Regions from separate parts of the Homo sapiens genome. Here all the other regions are linked to region 1. Evidence: promoter capture Hi-C in 16 types of primary human blood cells and fetal thymus (Javierre and others, 2016). All regions are on one chromosome and are shown on one strand. Each heading gives the region's core, a stretch centred on a gene start or on the middle of the fragment in contact. The rest is flanking DNA. Distances are from core to core; before and after follow the strand shown.

Evidence for each region. The method cuts DNA at HindIII sites, captures the fragments that hold promoters and counts their contacts. A CHiCAGO score of 5 or more calls a contact.
Region 2: a contact is called between a fragment that was not itself captured here and the fragment with the promoter of AHSP in region 1, in 6 of 17 cell types (fetal thymus, total CD4 T cells, naive CD8 T cells and 3 more). The highest score is 7.0, in fetal thymus.
Region 3: a contact is called between a fragment that was not itself captured here and the fragment with the promoter of AHSP in region 1, in 6 of 17 cell types (total CD4 T cells, naive CD4 T cells, M0 macrophages and 3 more). The highest score is 7.6, in total CD4 T cells.
Region 4: a contact is called between a fragment that was not itself captured here and the fragment with the promoter of AHSP in region 1, in 5 of 17 cell types (activated CD4 T cells, total CD8 T cells, fetal thymus and 2 more). The highest score is 7.2, in activated CD4 T cells.
Region 5: a fragment that was not itself captured here is called in contact with the fragment with the promoter of AHSP in region 1 in 8 of 17 cell types (naive CD4 T cells, total CD8 T cells, total CD4 T cells and 5 more); the score reaches 9.2 in naive CD4 T cells.
Region 6: a fragment that was not itself captured here is called in contact with the fragment with the promoter of AHSP in region 1 in 1 of 17 cell types (activated CD4 T cells); the score reaches 5.6 in activated CD4 T cells.
Region 7: a contact is called between a fragment that was not itself captured here and the fragment with the promoter of AHSP in region 1, in 9 of 17 cell types (erythroblasts, neutrophils, activated CD4 T cells and 6 more). The highest score is 15.9, in erythroblasts.

What each region holds. Positions count from the first base shown.
Region 1 is chr16:31,526,568-31,529,267 of GRCh38, forward strand. AHSP (alpha hemoglobin stabilizing protein) reads left to right here and starts at 1,333. Exons shown (of 3, transcript NM_016633.4): 1 at 1,333-1,395; 2 at 1,569-1,647; 3 at 1,891-2,236. The coding sequence starts at 1,573. The coding sequence ends at 2,124. The HindIII fragment of the contact is 1,316 bases long and covers 341-1,656 here.
Region 2 is chr16:31,734,172-31,736,871 of GRCh38, forward strand. All of the region lies in intron 3 of KRABD5 (KRAB domain containing 5), which reads left to right. Among named protein-coding and RNA genes, the nearest start is that of KRABD5, 22 kb to the left of the region's middle. The HindIII fragment of the contact is 3,107 bases long and covers 1-2,700 here.
Region 3 is chr16:31,778,233-31,780,932 of GRCh38, forward strand. No RefSeq gene overlaps it. Among named protein-coding and RNA genes, the nearest start is that of KRABD5, 66 kb to the left of the region's middle. The HindIII fragment of the contact is 1,355 bases long and covers 751-2,105 here.
Region 4 is chr16:31,754,118-31,756,817 of GRCh38, forward strand. The region is part of intron 4 of KRABD5 (KRAB domain containing 5); the gene reads left to right. Among named protein-coding and RNA genes, the nearest start is that of KRABD5, 42 kb to the left of the region's middle. The HindIII fragment of the contact is 3,312 bases long and covers 1-2,700 here.
Region 5 is chr16:31,678,354-31,681,053 of GRCh38, forward strand. It overlaps the pseudogene RBM22P12. Among named protein-coding and RNA genes, the nearest start is that of KRABD5, 34 kb to the right of the region's middle. The HindIII fragment of the contact is 3,626 bases long and covers 1-2,700 here.
Region 6 is chr16:31,661,507-31,664,206 of GRCh38, forward strand. No RefSeq gene overlaps it. Among named protein-coding and RNA genes, the nearest start is that of KRABD5, 50 kb to the right of the region's middle. The HindIII fragment of the contact is 3,144 bases long and covers 1-2,700 here.
Region 7 is chr16:31,697,842-31,700,541 of GRCh38, forward strand. No RefSeq gene overlaps it. Among named protein-coding and RNA genes, the nearest start is that of KRABD5, 14 kb to the right of the region's middle. RefSeq lists a silencer at 2,576-2,700. The HindIII fragment of the contact is 5,761 bases long and covers 1-2,700 here.

The DNA of each region.
Region 1 (2,700 bases), core at 83-2,582:
CTTTGGGAGGCCAAGGTGGGTCGATCACTTGAGGTCAGGAGTTCGAGACTAGCCTGGCCAACATGGTGAAACCCCATCTCTACTAAAATACAAAAATTAGCTAGGCGTGGTGATGCACGCCTGTAATCCCAGCTACTTGGGAGGCTGAGGCAGGAGAATCGCCTGAACCTGGGAGGTAAAGTTTGCAGTGAGCTGAGATCGCATCACTGCACTCCAGCCTGGGCCACAGAGGGAGACTCCCTCTCAAAAAAAAAAAATTTAATATACTGTACACCAAAAGGAAGTCAGTTTTGCTGTATATTGATTAAAAAATGCTACAACCAAAAAGGCAAATCAACAAAGCTTTATGAGTGTATAGGCACCTATGAATGTTGGGTTTTGAATGGAAAAAAAAAGTGACAGGAAATATACAATGTTTAATGCTGGTTACTTTGGAGGGGGCAAAAATGATTCAGTTTTTCAGTGTACGTTTTTGTATTGTTTTAATTATTTCAATTAGTATATAGTGATTTTGAAATTTGAGAAACATCTACTGAAAATGGAAAATATCTGGAAAAATATTTAAAAAGAGGAAAAAGAGTATTTCTGCTTTATTGGGTACCTGTTGACAGGGTAGTAAACAAGACAAATCCATCTCCATTCTTTTTTTTCTTTTGAGATGGAGTCTCGCCCTGTCACCCAGGCTGGAGTGCTGTGGTGTGATCTTGGCTCACTGCAACCTCTGCCTCCTGGGTTCAAGCGATTTTCGTGCCTCAGCCTCCCAAGTAGCTGAGACTACAGGTGCCCGCCACCACGCCCGGCTATTTATCTCCATTCTTATGGAGCACAGCGTGGTGGAGTTCAGTCCACACGCTTACAGGTGGCTTATCTGCAAAATGTGTCTAAAAAGAAATTTTATAGGATAAATATTTTGTACATGTTTGAAACAGTGCTTGGCACAAATGAATAAATGTAATGCAAGCTGCTATTAATACATCATCTCCGAATTGGGAGAATCATTGCGATCACATCGTTGTGATTACACAAAAGCCTCTGTCATGTAATAGGGCTCAGTAAACGTCAATTTCCATAGCATTTCGAGCCTGGATACTGAAATATGGGGCAAAAAGCAGGAACATGCCCCTGGTTTGGCTCTTGCCTTCTTGCATTTCCTGGGTTTCCTCATTTATCTTTTTTTTTTTTTTTTTTGGCCTTGTTATCTTTCTACCTTCAGGGAAGCCTCTCCCTTCTTCTCCTCCCTAGAATGACCTATCACCCTCCTTCAGGACCTAGATGCAGGGCGTTTCTATCTTAGGCTGACACTTGACTCCTTGCCTACATCTATAGCTTGGCACAGAGAGATTCACGCACCCTCAAGAGTGTGGGTGAGACATATACAGCCTGTTAGACCTGAAGGTGAGCCCAACCTGGGAAAATCGTGACCTCAGAGCAGGGCAGGATGTGAAAGGTTTTGGAAAGGAGATAGCCCTGCAGGGCAGGAGGGATTTTTAAGGGGAGGAAGTGGGTTGGGGGAAATACCCAGTGAGGAGGGAAACAGATATGTAAATTCTACCCTTTTCTCTACCCAGGCAGATGGCTCTTCTTAAGGCCAATAAGGATCTCATTTCCGCAGGATTGAAGGAGTTCAGCGTTCTGCTGAATCAGCAGGTGAGTCCAAGCTTTCCATTTCAAAGGACTGGCCTGGAGACTGGGGGGTGCCGGGGAAGTGGAGGAAGAGGATAATTGGAGCTGGTGAAGTAATGGTGGAGTTGATGGAAACAACGAGAGACACGGGATACAATGCAGAGGAAAGAGAATGTGAGAGTTGGTGCTGTGGCACTATTCTAGTATTCCCGAATCCCATTGCTGACCACATTCTCCCTTGCCAACTGCCTCTCCGCAACCCCCCAGGTCTTCAATGATCCTCTCGTCTCTGAAGAAGACATGGTGACTGTGGTGGAGGACTGGATGAACTTCTACATCAACTATTACAGGCAGCAGGTGACAGGGGAGCCCCAAGAGCGAGACAAGGCTCTGCAGGAGCTTCGGCAAGAGCTGAACACTCTGGCCAACCCTTTCCTGGCCAAGTACAGGGACTTCCTGAAGTCTCATGAGCTCCCGAGTCACCCACCGCCCTCCTCCTAGCTCAGGGACCCAGCCCCTCCTCTCTGAGAAACTCTGACCTTCATGTCCTTAGGCTGTGCTCCTGCCACTCTACCCTGACACCTCAATAAAGACCAGTGCTGGTTTTGTTGGACTTCCTGGCTTCTCTTTCATGGTCTGTCCTGACATGTGGAGGCACTCGGTCCCTTTCCTTCCGCCCTCCTTCTTAGATATGCTCTTGGAAGCTTAATTCCTTACAGCAGAGGTTAGCAGCCTTGAGTGACCACCGGGCAGCGATTCTAAACTAAAACAGGCTGAACGAGGGCCAGGAAGGCGGGACTAGAGAGAGTGCAGAGCTGCAGGGGAGGGGGTGGCAGAAACAAGAAAGGGGGATAGAAGTCCTCCAGACATTGTCCTGTGACCTGCTTGTCGAGGAGGAAACTGTTGGAAGTCTCCCAGTCTTGTTCATCCTGCGCCAGGTCCACCGCCTCGACTTTTCAATCCCCTGTCCTTAGCCCCAGCTCAAACTACATTCTAGGATCTTCGGACTCTGACTACCGCAAAATACCTCCCCGGAGCCCCAGGCATCGCAGGAATTTAGAGTTGGAAGGGATCCTG
Region 2 (2,700 bases), core at 143-2,642, 210 kb after region 1:
GTGCATTACCTCATGTATTTGGTAATTCTTAGTGGTGAGAACATTCAAAAGTCTCTCTTCTAACTTTTTTTTTTTTTTTTAGCTTTTATTGTTTGTAGAGACAGGATCTCACTGTGTTACCCAGGCTGAAGTGCAGTGGCACAATTGTAGTTCACCATAGCTTCAAACTCTTGGGCTCAAGTGATCCTCCTGCCTCAGCTCCCCAAGTCGTTAGGACTACAGGCATATGCCACCGTGCCTGGCTAATTTTAAAAAATTTTTGCAGAGATAGGGTCTCACTACATTGTCCAGGCTGGCCTTGAACTCCTGACCTTAAGTGGTGCTCCTGCTTCCGCCTCCCAAAGTACAGGGATTATAGGCATGTTACACTGTGACTGGCCTTTTATAGCTATTTTGTAATATGCAATACCCTTCTATTAACCATTGTTACTGTACTGTGTAATAGAACACCAGAACTTACTTCTCCTGTGTAATTGTAACTTTATACCTGTTAACCAACCTCTTTCTATTCCTCCCCCTTCAGTCTCTGGTAACCACTGTTATACTCTGCTTATATCAGCTTTTTTTTCCTTTTCTTTTTCTTTTTTTTTTTTAAGACAGAGTCTTGCTCTGTTGCCCAGGCTGGAGTGCAGTGGCGTGATCTCAGCTCACTGCAACCTCTGCCTCCTGGGTTCAAGGTATTCTCCTGCCTCAGCCTCCTGAGTAGCTGTGATTACAGGCATGCACCACCATGCCCAGCTAATTTTTTTGTATTTTTAGTAGAGACGGGGTTTCAACATATTGGCCAGACTGGTCTTGAACTCTTGAACTAAAATGATCCACCCCTCTTGGCCTCGCAAAGTGCTGGGATTAGAGGTGTGAGCCACTGTGCCCTGCCCGCCTGCCTGCCCTTTCTTTTCTCTTTTCTTTTCTCTTTTCTTTTCTTTCTCTCTCTTTCTTTCTTTTTTTCTTTCTTTCTTTTCAGGTTACTCATTTGAGTAAGATCATGAAGGGTTTATCTTTCTGTATATGGCTTATTCACTTAACATGATATCTCATGGTTCATCCATGTTATTGCAAAGGACAGGATTTTATTCTTTTTTAATGGCTGAATAGTAATTCATTGTGCATTTACACCACATTTTCTTTATCCATTTATCTCTTGGTGTACATTTGGATTGATTTCATATCTTGGCTGTTATAAAGAGTGCTGCAGTAAACATGGGAATGCAGCTATGTTTTTGACACGTTGATTTCCTTTCTTTTGGATATATACCCAATAGTGGAATTGCTGAATCATATGACAGCTGTATTTTTAATTTTTCAGGAACCTCCATACTCTTTTATAGTGGCCATACTACTTTACAATCCCATCAACAGTATATATGTGTTCCTTTTTCTTCACATCCTCACCAATACTTGTTTTAGTTATATTTTTTGTCTTTTTGATTATAGTCATTTTAACTGGAGTGTGGTGGTATCTCATTGTGGTTTGTATTTGCATTCCCTTGATGATTAGTGAAGTTGAGCATCTGTTTATGCACCTTTTGGCCATTTGTATGTCTTCTTTTCACTAATGTCTATGAAGGTCTGTGGCACATTTTTAAATTGGATTGTATGTTTGTTTTATTTTGAGATTTCAAATTTCTTATATACTCAATATTAACCTCTTGTCATATGTATAGTTTGCAAATGTTTTCTCCCATTGTCTAGGTTGTCTCTTCACTCTGTTATTTCATTTCATATGCAAAAGTCTTTTAGGTTGATGTAATCTCATTTGCCTATTTTTGCTTAGGTTGCCTTTGCTTTGAAGTCGGAATTTCCAAGTCCGATGTTGTAAAGTATTTGCCCTGTTTTCATCTAATAGTTTCATAGTTTAGGGCATTACATTTAAGTCTATAATCCATTTTGAGTTGGTTTTTGTATATGATGAGGGTTAGGGGTCTAGTCTTATTCTTCTGTATATGGATATTCAATTTTTCCTGCACCGTTTATTAAAGAGATTGTCTTTTCCCCAAAGTGTGTTCTTGGCATCTTTGTTGAAAATCAGTCAGCTTTAGGAGCATGAATTTATTTATGGACTCATTGGGCATATTGGTCTATGTGTTTGCTTTAATGCCAGTATAATGCTGTTTGGGATACTGTAGCTTTGTAGTAAATTTTGAAGTCAGGTAGTGTGATGCCTTGAGCCTGCTTTGTTCCTTTTGCTCAGGATTGCTTTGGCTATTCAGGGTATTTTGTGGTTCCATGTACATTTAGTTTTTTTTTTTTTTTTCTATTTTTGTGAAGAATGTCATTGGTATTCTGATAGAAATTGCGTTAAATCTATAGGTCACTTTGGGTAACATGCCCATTTTAATAATATTCTTTTTTTTTTTTTTTTTAAGATGGAGTCTTGCTCTTGTCACCCAGGTTGGAGTGCAATGGCGCGATTTTGGCTTACTGCAACCTCCGCTTCCTGGATTCAAATGATTGTCCTGCCTCAGCCTCCCAAGTAGCTGGGATTACAGGCACCCACCACCACGCCCAGCTAATTTTTATATTTTTTTGATAGAGACAGGGTTTCACCATGTTGACCAGGCTGGTCTTGAACACCTGACCTCAGGTGATCCACCCGTCTCAGCTTCCCAAAGTGCTGGGATTACAGGCGTGAGCCACTGCGCCTGGCCCATTTTAATAATATTCTTCCAATATATAAACACAATATATTTTCATCTATTC
Region 3 (2,700 bases), core at 178-2,677, 250 kb after region 1:
TTTACATGTTGATCTTGTATCTTGTGACATGGATGAATTTCTTAGTTCTAGTGAGTTTTTAGTAAATTCCTGACAAATTTTTATGTGGAAGATTATGTTGTGTGCAATGAAACACGGTTCTACTTTTTTTATTCAATCTGGACAATTTTTACTTTCCAGTATAATTTCCCGAGGTGGAGTACAATGTTGGATAGAGTGCTAAAAGTGGAAATTATGGTCCTGTTCCCAAAGTTATCAGTCAAGTACTCAGTCTTTCACCATCAAGTATAATGCTAGTTGTAGGTTTTTATAGATGGCTTTTAGCAGGACTCACTTTTTTGTCTATTAGTAGCATTCTGTTTTTTTTTTTTTTATCACAATGTATGTTAGATTTTTGTCAAATGTTTTTCTGTGTCTATCGAAATGTTCTTTTTGTCATGTATTCAAGTAATATTGTGTATTATCTTAATTGACTTTTAGATATTAAGCTAACATTGCATTTATGAAAATAAAATCTCACTTGGCTATGGTATATAATCATGTTTATTATGTTCCTGGAATAAATTTCCTAGTATTTAATAAGGATTTCTGTGTCTGTAGTCATTACGGATTTTTCTTTCTAGTCTTCTTGCAATGCTTTTTTCCAGCTTTGGTATCATGGCACTCCTGGCCTCATAGAGTAAATTGGGAAGTGTTGCTTCTATTTTTGGAAGTTACTTTGAAGAATTAGCATGAATATTTTATTAGATGTTGATAAGATTTATCATTTAAAGCTTTTGATTCAGAGATTTTCAATGTGGAAAGACTTTTAATTAATATTTTGTCTTCTGACATGACTTTATATACAGTCATGTGTTATTTATCAATGGGGATATGTTCATAGATATGTGTTGTTAGGCATTTCATCATTTTGCAAACAGCATAGAGTGTACTTACACAAACCTAGATGGTAGACCCTATTGCACACCTAGGCTATATGGTATAGCTTGTTGCTCCTATGCTACAAGTCTGTGAAGCATGTTACTCTACTGAATGCTATAGGCAGTTGAAACACAATGGTAAATATTTATGTATCTGAAGATACCTAAACATAGAGGAGGTACAGCAAAAAATACAATATAAAAGATAAAAAATGGTACATCTGTATAGGGCACTTACGATGAATGGAGCTTATGGGGCTGGAAGTTGTATAGTAAATACATAAATTAATAACATAGTCATTTATTATCATTATCAAGTATTATATACTGTACATAATTGTATGTGATATACATATATATGACTGACAGCACAGGGTTGTCTACCCCAACTGATATGGTTTGGCTCTATGTCTCCACCCAAATCTCATCTTGTAGCTCCCATAATTCCTACATGTTGTGGGAGGGATGCAGTGGAGGATAACTGAATCATGGGGGTAGGTCTTCCCCGTACTGTTCTTGTAATAGTGAATAAGTCTCATGAGATCTGATGATTTTAAAAATGGGAGTTTCCCTGCACATGCTCTCTCTGTTTGCCAGCCACCATCCACATAAGATCTGACTTGCTCCCCCTTGCCTTCTGCCATGATTGTGAGGCCTCCTCAGCCATGTGGAACTGTAAGTCCATTACACCTCATTCTCTTGTAAATTGCCAAGTCTTGAGTATGTATTTATCAGCAGTGTGAAAATGGACTAATACAGTAAATTGGTACCAGGAGTGGGGCACTGCTGAAAAGACACCCAAAAATATAAAAGCGACTTTGGAACTGGGTAACAGGCAGAGGTTGGAACAATTTGGAGGGCTCAGAAGAAGACAGGAAAATGTGGGAAAGTTTGGAACTTCCTAGAGACTTATTGAATGGCTTTGCCCAAAATGCTGGTAGTGATATGGGCGATAAAGTCCAGGCTGAGGTGGTCTCACATGGAAATAAGGAACTTTTTGGAAACTGAAGCAAAGGTGACTCTTGTTATGTTTTACCAAAGGGACTGGTGACATTTTGCTCCTGCTGTAGAGATCTCTGGAACTTTAAATTTGAGAGAGATGAGTTAGGGTATCTGGTGGAAGACATTCCTAAGCAGCGAAGCATTCAAGATCTGACTTGGGTGCTTTTAAAGGCATTCAGTTTTATGAGGAAGGGGGACCATAAAAGCTTGGAAAATTGCAGCCTGAAAATGCAATAGAAAAGAAAATCCCATTTTCTGAGAAGAAATTCAAGCCAGCTGCAGAAATTTTCATAAGTAACAAGGAGGTGTATGTTAATCCCCAAGACAATGGAGAAAATATCTCCAGAGCATTTCAGAGGTATTCACGGCAGCTCCTCCCATCACAGGCCTGGAGGCCCAGGAAGAAAAAATGGTTTTGTAAGCTGGGCCCAAGGCTCCCCTACTGTGGGGAATCTAGGGAGTTGGTGCCCTGAGTCCCAGCCACTTGAATGACTAAAAGGGGCCAAGGTATAGCTCAGACCATGGCTTCAGAGGTTGCAAGCCCCAATCCATGGCAGCTTCCACCTGGTGTTGAGCTGCAGGTGCACAGAAGTCAAGAATTGAGGTTTGAGAACCTCTGCCTAGATTTCAGAGGATGTATAGAAATGCCTGGATGTCCAGGCAGAAGTTTGCTGCAGGGATGTGGCCCTCATGGAGAACCTCTGCTACGGCAGTGCTGAAGGGGTCAGAGCCCCCACACTGAGTCCCTACTAGGGCCCACCTAGTGGAGCTATGAGAAGAGGGCCACTGCCCTCCAGAC
Region 4 (2,700 bases), core at 94-2,593, 230 kb after region 1:
TGACTTAGTCCATGTTTCAAATAATCATTTAAACCAATTAAAATATAGAACTGGAGTAAATGTTCAGTCAAATATTTCTGAAAAGGAGAGATTTAAAAACGAGGAGGTGATTTCTAAATATGATCAATTTGATGGATCTTTGTTAAAAGTTTGTTTCACCAACAAATAACACCTCGTTCTGCCTGTGATCAATATAGAAAGGTCTTCATTCATTCATCATTGCTTAATCAATGTCAAGGAATAGATAATTTGGGAAAATATCACACACATAATAAAACTTTGACAGCCTTTAGGCAGGACTATACCCTAAATAATTACCAGTATATTTGTGTTGCAGAGAAAAATCAGTACAATAAATCTGATACAACATTAAGCCAAGGCATAAGCCCCAGAAGACATCAGAAAACTCATTTTCTACATAACCATTGCAAACGTAAAAAATGTGAGAAAGCCTTTCATGAATGCACCAACCATGTCCATCAGAGTATCTTTATTCAAGAGAAGTCTGCCAAATGTAATAAGTGTATAGAAACTTTTATCCAGTCATCAAAACATACTCAGCCTCAGAGAATCCATATTGGAGAAAAGTCACACAGATGTAATAATGGTGAGAAAATCCTTAGTAAATTGTCAAGTCTAAGAAAACATAAGATAATCCATAATGAAGAGAAACCTTACAAATGTAAAGAATGTGACAAAGCCTTTAACCATCGTTCACACCTTACTCAACATCAAATAATTCATACTGGAGAGAAACCATACAAATGTAAAGAATGTGGCAAAGCCTTCAATTCTAGTTCATATTTTACTAGACATCAGAGAATTCACACTGGAGAAAAACTTTACAAATGTAAAGCGTGTAGCAAATGTTTTACTCATTCTTCAAATCTTCTTGTGCATCAGAGAATTCATACTGGAGAGAAACCTTACAAATGTAAAGAATGTGGTAAATCATTTAAAGTGTCTTCAGCCCTTACTCAGCATGAGAGAATTCATACTGGAGAGAAACCCTATAAATGTAAGGAATGCAGCAAAGCCTTTAACTGTAGGTCGTACCTAACTAAACATCAGAGAATTCATACCGGAGAAAAACTTTACAAATGTAAATCATGTAGCAAATCTTTTTCTCGTTCCTCAAGTCTTATTGTCCACCAGAGAATTCATACTGGAGAAAAACCCTATAAATGCAAAGAATGTGGCAAAGCCTTTAATTGTAGTTCACGCCTTACTCAACATCAAAGAATTCATACCGGAGAGAAACCCTACATATGTAAAGAATGTGGCAAAGCCTTTAACTGTAGTTCATCCCTTACTAAACATCAGAGAATTCATACTGGAGTAAAACTTTACAAATGTAAAGCATGTAGCAAATCTTTCTCTCATTCCTCATGTCTTTCTGTGCATCAGATAACTCATACTGGAATGAAACCATATATATGTAAGGATTGTGGCATCTCCTTTAACCGGTCTTCAAACCTTAGACGACATCAGATGATTCATACTGGAGAGAAACCCTACAAATGTAAAGAATGTGGCAAATTATTTAATCGATGCTCAACCCTTACTCGACATAAAAGTATTCATACTAGAGAATTTCTATAGTTGTAGTAAATGTGAAAAGAGTTTTATCCAAAATTTAGAACTTAAAAATCACCATAGAGTTTATAGGGAAACCGACTTTACAGATTGAATAAATGGGAGGAAGTATTTAATCAGAACTCAAATCTGAATGTGTCAGGACTTACACAAAAAAGGACTAAAGCACAGATCCCCACTTTAAAATTAAATAAGAGTATTTGTTATGGAGGATTACTCTAAAGCCAAAGCAGTTACTTATTTTGTTATGTGTTTCAAATGAGCAAAAGCATTGATGTTTGGACAAGTAATTATTCAGTGAGCATGTTATTTGTATTGAAAACATTTGAAATTTGTATAAAGCAAATCATAATTTAATTCTCAGATTAGTTGTTATACCTTAATGCCTAGTGTTTATATAAAAACATATAGTCTATTTTTTCTGCATCAGAGCTGTAAGAGGTCGTTCTATAGTAGGTGAACATCATTAATATCAACTTATTTTCTTGGAAATTTAATGGCAAATGTAAAATACATGAAGAAAATCTAAAAGAGGCTCTTTGTGTTTGAATCATTAAACAGTAATATGTGTAAACATATAGTACATATTTAGGGCATTAGTATTCTATACTAAAGTAAAAGAGGAATATTCTGAATTTATTTATTACATCAATTGCTCCTTAAGTAGAAAAACACTGGTCAGTTATTTAAAATACTGGCATACCTTTATAGTACAATGAAGTAGTAATCTTGAATATTATTTGATGTGTTAAAAATAAAAACATCTTCACAGATATCAGAGAAAAGTGAAAACTCATATCTGAAAGATTATAAATATACTTTATATCAATTTTCCAGAGAACTTAAACTTCTAATAATATTGGTAATATTCTCATGGTTACTATTTTATATTCTTTCCTGCTTTTTGTAGCTACTGGTGTACTATGACAGTTATAATAAAGATTATATGGGGGTATACTTAAATGCCATACTTTTAAAATCCTGAATCATTGTTTATAAAGTTTTATTCAATATTTTTCTTTGCACATGCCCTTTTTCAGTCCAATTGAACACTTAGAGATTTTTCTTTGCTTTCACTTGCATTAAATGGAATATACAGATGTA
Region 5 (2,700 bases), core at 33-2,532, 150 kb after region 1:
GGCCGTGTGTGCTGCCCTTACAAGTATGGCTCAAATATTTGAAAAACTGACTACTTGTTCAGGGCCATGTCATACTGTCCTGAATTTAGTAAACATTCTGCAGCATATCCTTAGACCCAAAGCCATAGGACCTCTTTTTCTTCACCTGGCAGGGCCAATAATGTACCTTTTAGAGCTTTCTCCATTTTGTTTTATGTATAATGTCCAGGGATTTTAGTTGTACTTATTGGGAAGAATAGAGACATATATGTCTAGTCTTGTCTTCCCCAGAACTGAAATGCTTGGTTGTGAATAGATTAAACTGAGCTATCTCTAGTTTGTCCATTATCCAAGCAGAAATATCAAGTTACTGATATTAGTTCCCATCTGAGGCTCTTCTCCAGGTGGTGGCATCCCTTCCTGGGCCCTGGGGCCTTGGCTGCATCAGCAAGGAGAGATGCTGCCACTCAGGTCTTGAGCTCCGCTCTAGCATAGTGATGTCACTGTCTGTGGTGAAGAATATGATTAACAACAAAGTCTCCTGCAAACCCAGGAAATCTCTCCAGAAAGACAGAGGAGAAAGAAAACAGTTTCATTGAAGAATCATTAAACCACATTGTGATGCACAAAACAGACAATAACTTAGCGCATGGCAAGAAAGAAGGAAATCTCACCTTTGTGTATAGGCAGGCAGTTACAACCAGTGCTTGCGTGTTCCTGAGATAAACAGCAACCAGTCCTCAAGGAAGTGACTTGACAGCACTATTTTTATATGTCCCTCGAGGGTAGCCACAGTGCTCGCTAATCGGATTTATGACAAGAAAAGACCAGTGTCTCACAATTTATGGCAAGAGTAGGTTAGTAAGTTAGAGCCAGGCACTGGCGGAAGTTGGGCTCCTACCCTCTCACAGGAACTCTCTCCCTTAATGATTCCATTTCAGAGATGGCTCCCAGGCCCTTGAGAAAGATAGTCCTGGTTGGAAGCTGGCAAGAGGTTACTTAACTTTTGAAGAGACTTCCATATATCACAAAGGGACAGAGAAGAAACTCATAAGGATATTTTTTCTTTAAAAAAATGCTCAGAAAGAAAAAATCAGGGTTCCTATTCCCTTTTTCACTGGGACAAATTTGTTTCATTGGTAATTACCCTTGTATCCGCCAATGGTTCAATGACCTCCACCTTCTACTCTTCAGTCTTACCTCTAGTTCAGCCACTGCCTCCTACTCTCTGGTACTCAGCCCTGTGTCTTGCAGAGCTGCCTTTCTCCTTATATTCTCAACCCTGTTTCCTAAACTCAGGGATCTCCATGCTCTGCCTGGATCCTGCCTGCCTGCACTCCCTCCTGGATGCTCTTTGCAGGCTCTGAGCTGGGGTAGCCAGGGGGTCCCCTCCCTTGGATTCAGCCTCCAGACCACTATCCTGTGCTCCTGTCAGACACTTTCCAGGGTCTGGACATATTTGGGTCACATAGTGGATCTGACTTTCTATTTGTTTGATGCTGGAGGGAGTCTGGACCTTGTTCTTTCACATACACAGAAAACAAAGCTCTAAATTGATTTTGAAATTCTTTGTTATTAATTTTGGACTGAGATAAATTCTCTATTACTTTACAGTGACACAAATATTGTAGCTCAGTTCCTGGTAGTTAGAATTTTAGATAATTATTTTCAGTACTATGATTTCCCATATTTAATCAACTCGTAGGCAAGGCATGAATAGAGATTGTCTTATGTTAGAATACCTTTTTCTTTAATTTTTTGAATCAGCTCTCTTCCCACACCAACCCACAATCTCTCTGTTCTAGCCTCAGTCACTTTTGGTAGCCCTGAGTTTTTATTCTGGGCAACAAAGGCAGCTCAATAGATGATGGGTCTATGGCTCATTATATATGGGGCTCTTGCCAAGCAACACCTGGTGACCAGAAGGTGACCCAAGCTCTCTTCTCAGGGCAGATCACTATGCCTGAAACAAAAGAAGAACCCTTCCAGGGCAGAAATACTTAGCCTGAAAATCCTTTCATTCATTCACTGTTCAGGTGTCTTTATCCATTATTGAGCATGATAAATATCCAGACAGGTGCTTCCTGACATGTCCATGAGTTTAAGGATTAGACGTTACTTCTCCCAGGGATCCTGGTTCTTGCTCTTCTCATTTAAGGTTTTATTATCTCCCAACAACAGATACGAGAGCATGCTTAGGGCTTGGCAGCATAGAGGGGGTCTTTGGAAACCACTCAACTATACGCTGTGAGTAGTTTCAAAGGGCATTCGCATTTCTCTGTCCCTTCCAGGCCAGTCCTTGGAGAGATCAGGAAATCCAGAGCTTCCTACAAGAATGGGGATTCCTTGGAAGAGTTTCACCTTGGGACAAAAAAGAGGAATCATGGTGTCAAAGGCAATTGCCCAGGGTCTCAAGAATAGGGGCATGAAGAAGAGTTGGGCTGATGGGTGTGTGGCGGTCCTGGCTACCACCTCGAATGCTACCACTGCCTCTAGACCCTCTCAAGACGGTGACATTTCTTGGTTCCAATACCTAAAATAAGCAAAACTGGGAAGACGTAAACTTCTCCATTCTGTGCCAGACATGTCTTGGAGAAAACCTGTATATCTGAATGACCAAAGAAAAGTATGAGACAAAATGGAAAATCTATTCCAGGCCATACACAGTGTTTTGTTGGTACCCTGGGATCCACATGCATTTCAAGAAGACTGAAGTGTGCC
Region 6 (2,700 bases), core at 30-2,529, 130 kb after region 1:
CAAAATCTGCTCTCACTCCATCTCAGTACTTACAGTTTAAAACCTGGTGGGCTGATAAAGCACAAACCCAGGCAAGGGAAAACACACAAGCACAGCCACCTGTGCGTTTGTTTTGAACAGATAATGGGAGTTGGCCCTAATTGGGGTCGATTAGAAAATCAAGCAGTAATGGAGAACGTTGCCATTGTTCAGTTACGCATGGTGCACTTATGGGCATGGGAGAGAATAAATGTTACAGGAGAAAAATATCCTTCTTTCAGTTCTGTCCAACAAGGACCTAAAGAACCATATACTGATTTTATTGCTTGGCTCCAGGAGGCTGTGTATAAGGCCATAACTGACAAAACAGCTCAAGATGTTGTAATACAGCTTCTTGCATATGATAATGCTAATACAGAGTGTCAAAATGCTATTAGACCTACCAGAGGGAAGGCTCACTTGGCTGAATATATTAAGGCTGGTGATGGCATTGGGGGTAACTTACACAAGGCTACTCTTTTAGCTCAAGCTATGGCTGGACTAAAGGTGGGAAAAAATATGCCCCGATTCTCAGGCTCTTGCTTTAATTGTGGGCAATTTGGACACACACAAAAGGCATGTAGATAAGGAAATCAAAAGGCAAAAACTATTGCCATAAATCAACAGAAAAGTTCCGGTGTATGCCCCCAGTGTAAGAAGGCAATCACTGGGCAAATCAGTATCATTCTAAATTTAGTAAAGATGGGCAACCTCTTTCAGGAAATGGGAAGAGGAGCCTGCCTCAGGCCCCTCAACGAACCGAGGAATATCTGGCACAGTCAGTGCCTTACAAACGTACAACAATTGTCCCCTGCCACAGCAGGCAGTGCTGCCGTAGATCTCTGCAGCACAATGCCTGTCTCCTTACTTCCTGGGGAGCTGCCAAAGAAGGTCCCCATGGGAGTTGGGGGCCCTTTACCCTCATGAACAGTTGGTCTATTGCTTGGAAGGTCTAGCTTAAATTTAAAAGGTGTCACTGTGCATACAGGAATAATTGATTCTGATTATGCCAGAGAGATTCAACTAGTTATTAGTTCCTCAACTCCATGGTCTGCTTCTCCAGGAGGAAGAATTGCTCAGTTGTTGCTGTTACCTTATACAAAACTGGGAAGCAGCACTGTAAAAAGAACAGGAGGCTTTGGTAGTACTAACCCAGCAGGAAAAGCTGTATATTGGGTTAATCAAGTGTCTGATAAGAGACCTATTTGTACAGTAACCATTCAGGGAAAGGACTTTGAAGGGTTAGTAGATACTGGAGCCGATGTTCTTATTATTGCTTTAAATCAATGGCCCCGACACTGGCCCAAACAAAAGGCATCCATCAGTATTGTTGGAGTAGGAGCTGCTTCAGAAGGTTTTCAAAGTTTCTTGATTTTACCATGTCAGGGGCCGGATGGCCAGGAAGGGACAATTTGACCTATTATTACACCTATTCCTGTCAATCTATGGAGTAGAGACTTATTGCAACAATGGGGTGCTGAAATTTCTATTCCTATGGATCAGTATCGTAATAACAGTAAACAAATGATGAAAAATATGGGATATCTCCCTGCAAAAGGATTACGAAAGAATGAAAGTGGCCAACCAGAACCTTTAGAACTAAAAGGGCAAACAGATCAAACTGTATTAGGGTATCATTTTTAGATGTGGCCATTGCTGAGCCGCCCTCTCCCATTCCTCTTGTTTGGCTAACTGCCAAACCAGTTTGGGTGGAGCAATGGCTGCTGAAACAGAAAAAACTGGAGGCTTTTAAAAAATTAGCAGAGGAACAATTGCAAAAGGGACACATAGAGCCTGCTTTCTCCCTTGGAACTCTCTCTTGTGTTTGTTATTAAGAAAAAATCAAGGAAATGGAGAATGTTAACGGATTTGAGGGCAGTTAAAATTAAACCCATGGGTGCACTGCAACCAGGGCTGCCCTCTCCAACAATGATCCCAAAATACTGGCCTCTAATAGTGATAGATTTAAAAGACTGCTTCTTTACCATTCCTTTAGCTTCCAAGATTATGAAAAATTTGCTTTTACTGTTCCTGCTATAAATAACAAATAACCAGTGGACAGATACCATTGGAAAGTATTACCACAAGGCATGTTAAATAGCCTGACTATTTGTCAAACTTATGTCGGAAAAGCTATTAAGCCAGTTAGAGAACAATTTAAAAAATGTTATATTATCCATTACATGGATGATATTTTATGTGCAGCTGAAACTAGGTAGGAATTAATACTATGCTACAAAGAGTTAGAAAAGGCTGTAACTGCAGCAGGATTAATCATAGCCCCCGATAAAATTCAAACCTCTACTCCCTTTCAATATTTAGAAATGAAGGTAGAACAAAGTACTATTAAGCCTCAAAAGGTTCAAATTCGAAGAAATAATTTAAAAACTTTAAATGACTTTCAAAAATTATTGGGAGACATTAATTGGATTCATCCAACCTTAGGCATTCCTACCTATGCTATGTCTCACCTTTTTTCTACCTTATGAGGTGATTCTAACTTAAACAGTAAATGCTCCCTGTCCAAAAAGGCATTAGAGGAACTTCAATTAATTGAAGAAAAAATTCAACAAGCATAAGTAAAATGAATTGACCCTATGCAGCCATTACAGTTTTTAGTTTTTCCAACTAAACATTCACCTACAGGAGTTATTGTTCAACAGGATGATCTGGTTGAGTGGC
Region 7 (2,700 bases), core at 117-2,616, 170 kb after region 1:
ATCACAACCACTATTTCTAATTGTGGTAATAATAATGATCACACTTAGAATAATGATGAATAACAATAATTGTAATTGCTGACATATTCAGTTTATATGTAGATTTATTATTTGTAATGTTTTAAAATTTACATTTAGTAATATAGACATTAATTGTGTCATAAATGTCAGGACCCCAAAACACCCCACCTAATGAATGACTCTCATCTATGGACCTATGGCTGCCCACCTGCTAGTGCGGGTGCTCTCACCACTCCACCCCCAGAGCTTCGATCTGTCTGGTCAACCTTCTAGGATGATGAAGTAGCTGAAGCACTCTTATGATCTGATTGAGGTCTTGGCAAACAGCTTGACTTGTTAGAAATCGAAGGCTGACTTTAAGACGTACTCAGCTGTTTGGCTAAATTGAGGCAGGAGGAAATGTCTTCTCGGCAGATCTACCTTTGTGTCTCTTGCTTTCAGAGTAAAACGTTGTTTCGGGAACAGTAGTTTAATTTAGTCTGTGTTAAAAATCATAATCAGACTACAAATAACGCACGGGGATGAAAATAATTTGCACACATGTTCGTGCATTATATGTGTTTTCAGATCTCTCCTATGGTAAGAAATGAAAAAGTTATGCCTTGATTTTTTAAACTCAGCCATCAGCCATTTTCCCAAGTTAATCTAAATGTTTGCAAGACATTTCAGAAGCATTCTCTGGTGGGGATTACTCCTAATTGTGAATAATCCTACTAGAAGGATGAGCATCTCAAAAGAACCTTTATTCTATTGCAGAAGAGTCAGTCTTCAGGATCTCAAAGGCCTAGGGAAGCTGCTTGAGTTGTGAGGTCTATGGAGGTACATGGGCTTTGGAGTCAGGCAAAGTTGATCCAGAGTCCCAGTCCAGCCACTTAGTAGCTGTAGTGCTTTGGACATGTTCCTTGACTTGGAACAGTTATATAAACCTTGCTGTAAGAAAAGGCAGAATGATACTGACTGCAAAATGGCTCTGGTGTCCATGCCCTTTGGAATATGCTTTTACAGCTGCTCCAACATAGAGGCAGAATCTGTTTCCTGACGCTTGGATCTGGGCTGGCCTTATTTGCTCTGGGCAATAGAAAGCTATCAATATGGCAATGTGACAGTTTGGGGTCTAGGGACATAAGGCCTTGAATGCTTCTGCTTTTTCTTTTAGAACCCTGCCATCTCCATGAGAACAAGCACATGTTAGCCTGCTGGAGGATGAGATCCCACTGGGGAGGAAAACCAAGGTGCCCCAGCTGACACCCAGAAGCAGAGCCACTTAGTCAACCAGCAGCTGACCACACACGCCTGAAGGAGCCCAGCTGAGACCAGAAGAATGGCCCAGTTGAGTCCAGCCTAAATGACTGACCATCCCAATCATGAGCTAATAAGGTTTAGGGTGGTTTTTAATGCAGCAATAGCTAACTGATACATACACCTGCAGTCAGGTTGCCAGGATTCAAATGACAGGTTGGTCACTACTTGTTGTTACCTGGCAAACAGAAGGCACTGTATAAGGTATTGATTTGCTTTTCCCTTTATTTAAAGTGGGGCCTCTTGTTGGATAGGGATAAATTATACAGAAATGCATGTTGACATGCTTGGTGCTTAAACTCACACAGTCCCCACACCATAGGAGGAAACAGCCCGCCATAGCCTAACCATCAGGGCCAAGGGCAAATTGCAAAATAAAAAAAATTTGCTTTTATTCCCTCCACATCCAAACTTTGGAGGTCAAGGCTGTAGACAGATCTGAAGTCAGGGGTTTCCTCCTGAAGCCTGACACTCTTCATTCACTGTCTGACCTTTGGAAGGCTGAGGGAGCCCTGCCCAGAAGCAGGTGGGCAGCAGTGGTCGACCTGTGGACACCTCCTGACTGCAGCCCTGGCTCTCTCACTGGGCACTGCCTCTCCCACCCTTGGGCATGAGGAAAGAGATGGGCAGGATGAGGGTGTTCGCTCTCGTCTGGCAGGAAAGGGGGTCCAGGCCCTCGATTTCCCTGAGGTTAGACGCGCAAGTGCCCTCAGATCTGCTCTTCAATGCGGAAGCCACTGCCCACGTGGGGCTGCTGAGCTCTTTGGATAGAGCTGGTTGGAACTGAGATGTGCTAGAAGTTTAAATACAGAGTGACTTTACAAGATTTAGTACCCCAAACTTAAGAAGCATTCTCTGGTGGTCTTCATTAATAATTTCATATTGCTCACATATTTGAGTGATAATATTTTGGATATATCGGGTTAAGGTATTACCATCAATTTTACCTGTTTTCCTTTCATGATGCCACTAGGCTACTGTAAATGACACATGCGGCTCAATTTTATTCCTATTGGACATTTCTGACTTAGAGGACTCCCTCCATTTTCAAATCTCATGCTGCCTCCACAAGGGACCAGAGGCCATGAAGGTTATGAAATCTGAAATTTTAAAAGAATCGTTATTATATAATTTTCAATTTTACATATTACCTATATTACTCATAAATTGATATAATCTTATGAGCAAAGTTAAATACCAATGTCCGGAGCAGCCCCAGGTCCCAGCACAGGGAGTCAGCCCTGCCTGAAAAGGGCTGCAGACAATCATTCATTCAGGCCTCATTCAGCCACACCTGTGATCGCATCTCCTGTCACTCGGGGGTAAGGGGGCGGGACCTGGAGCCCTATCCATTCAGCGGCGCCGTTGTCGAGCCTGTCC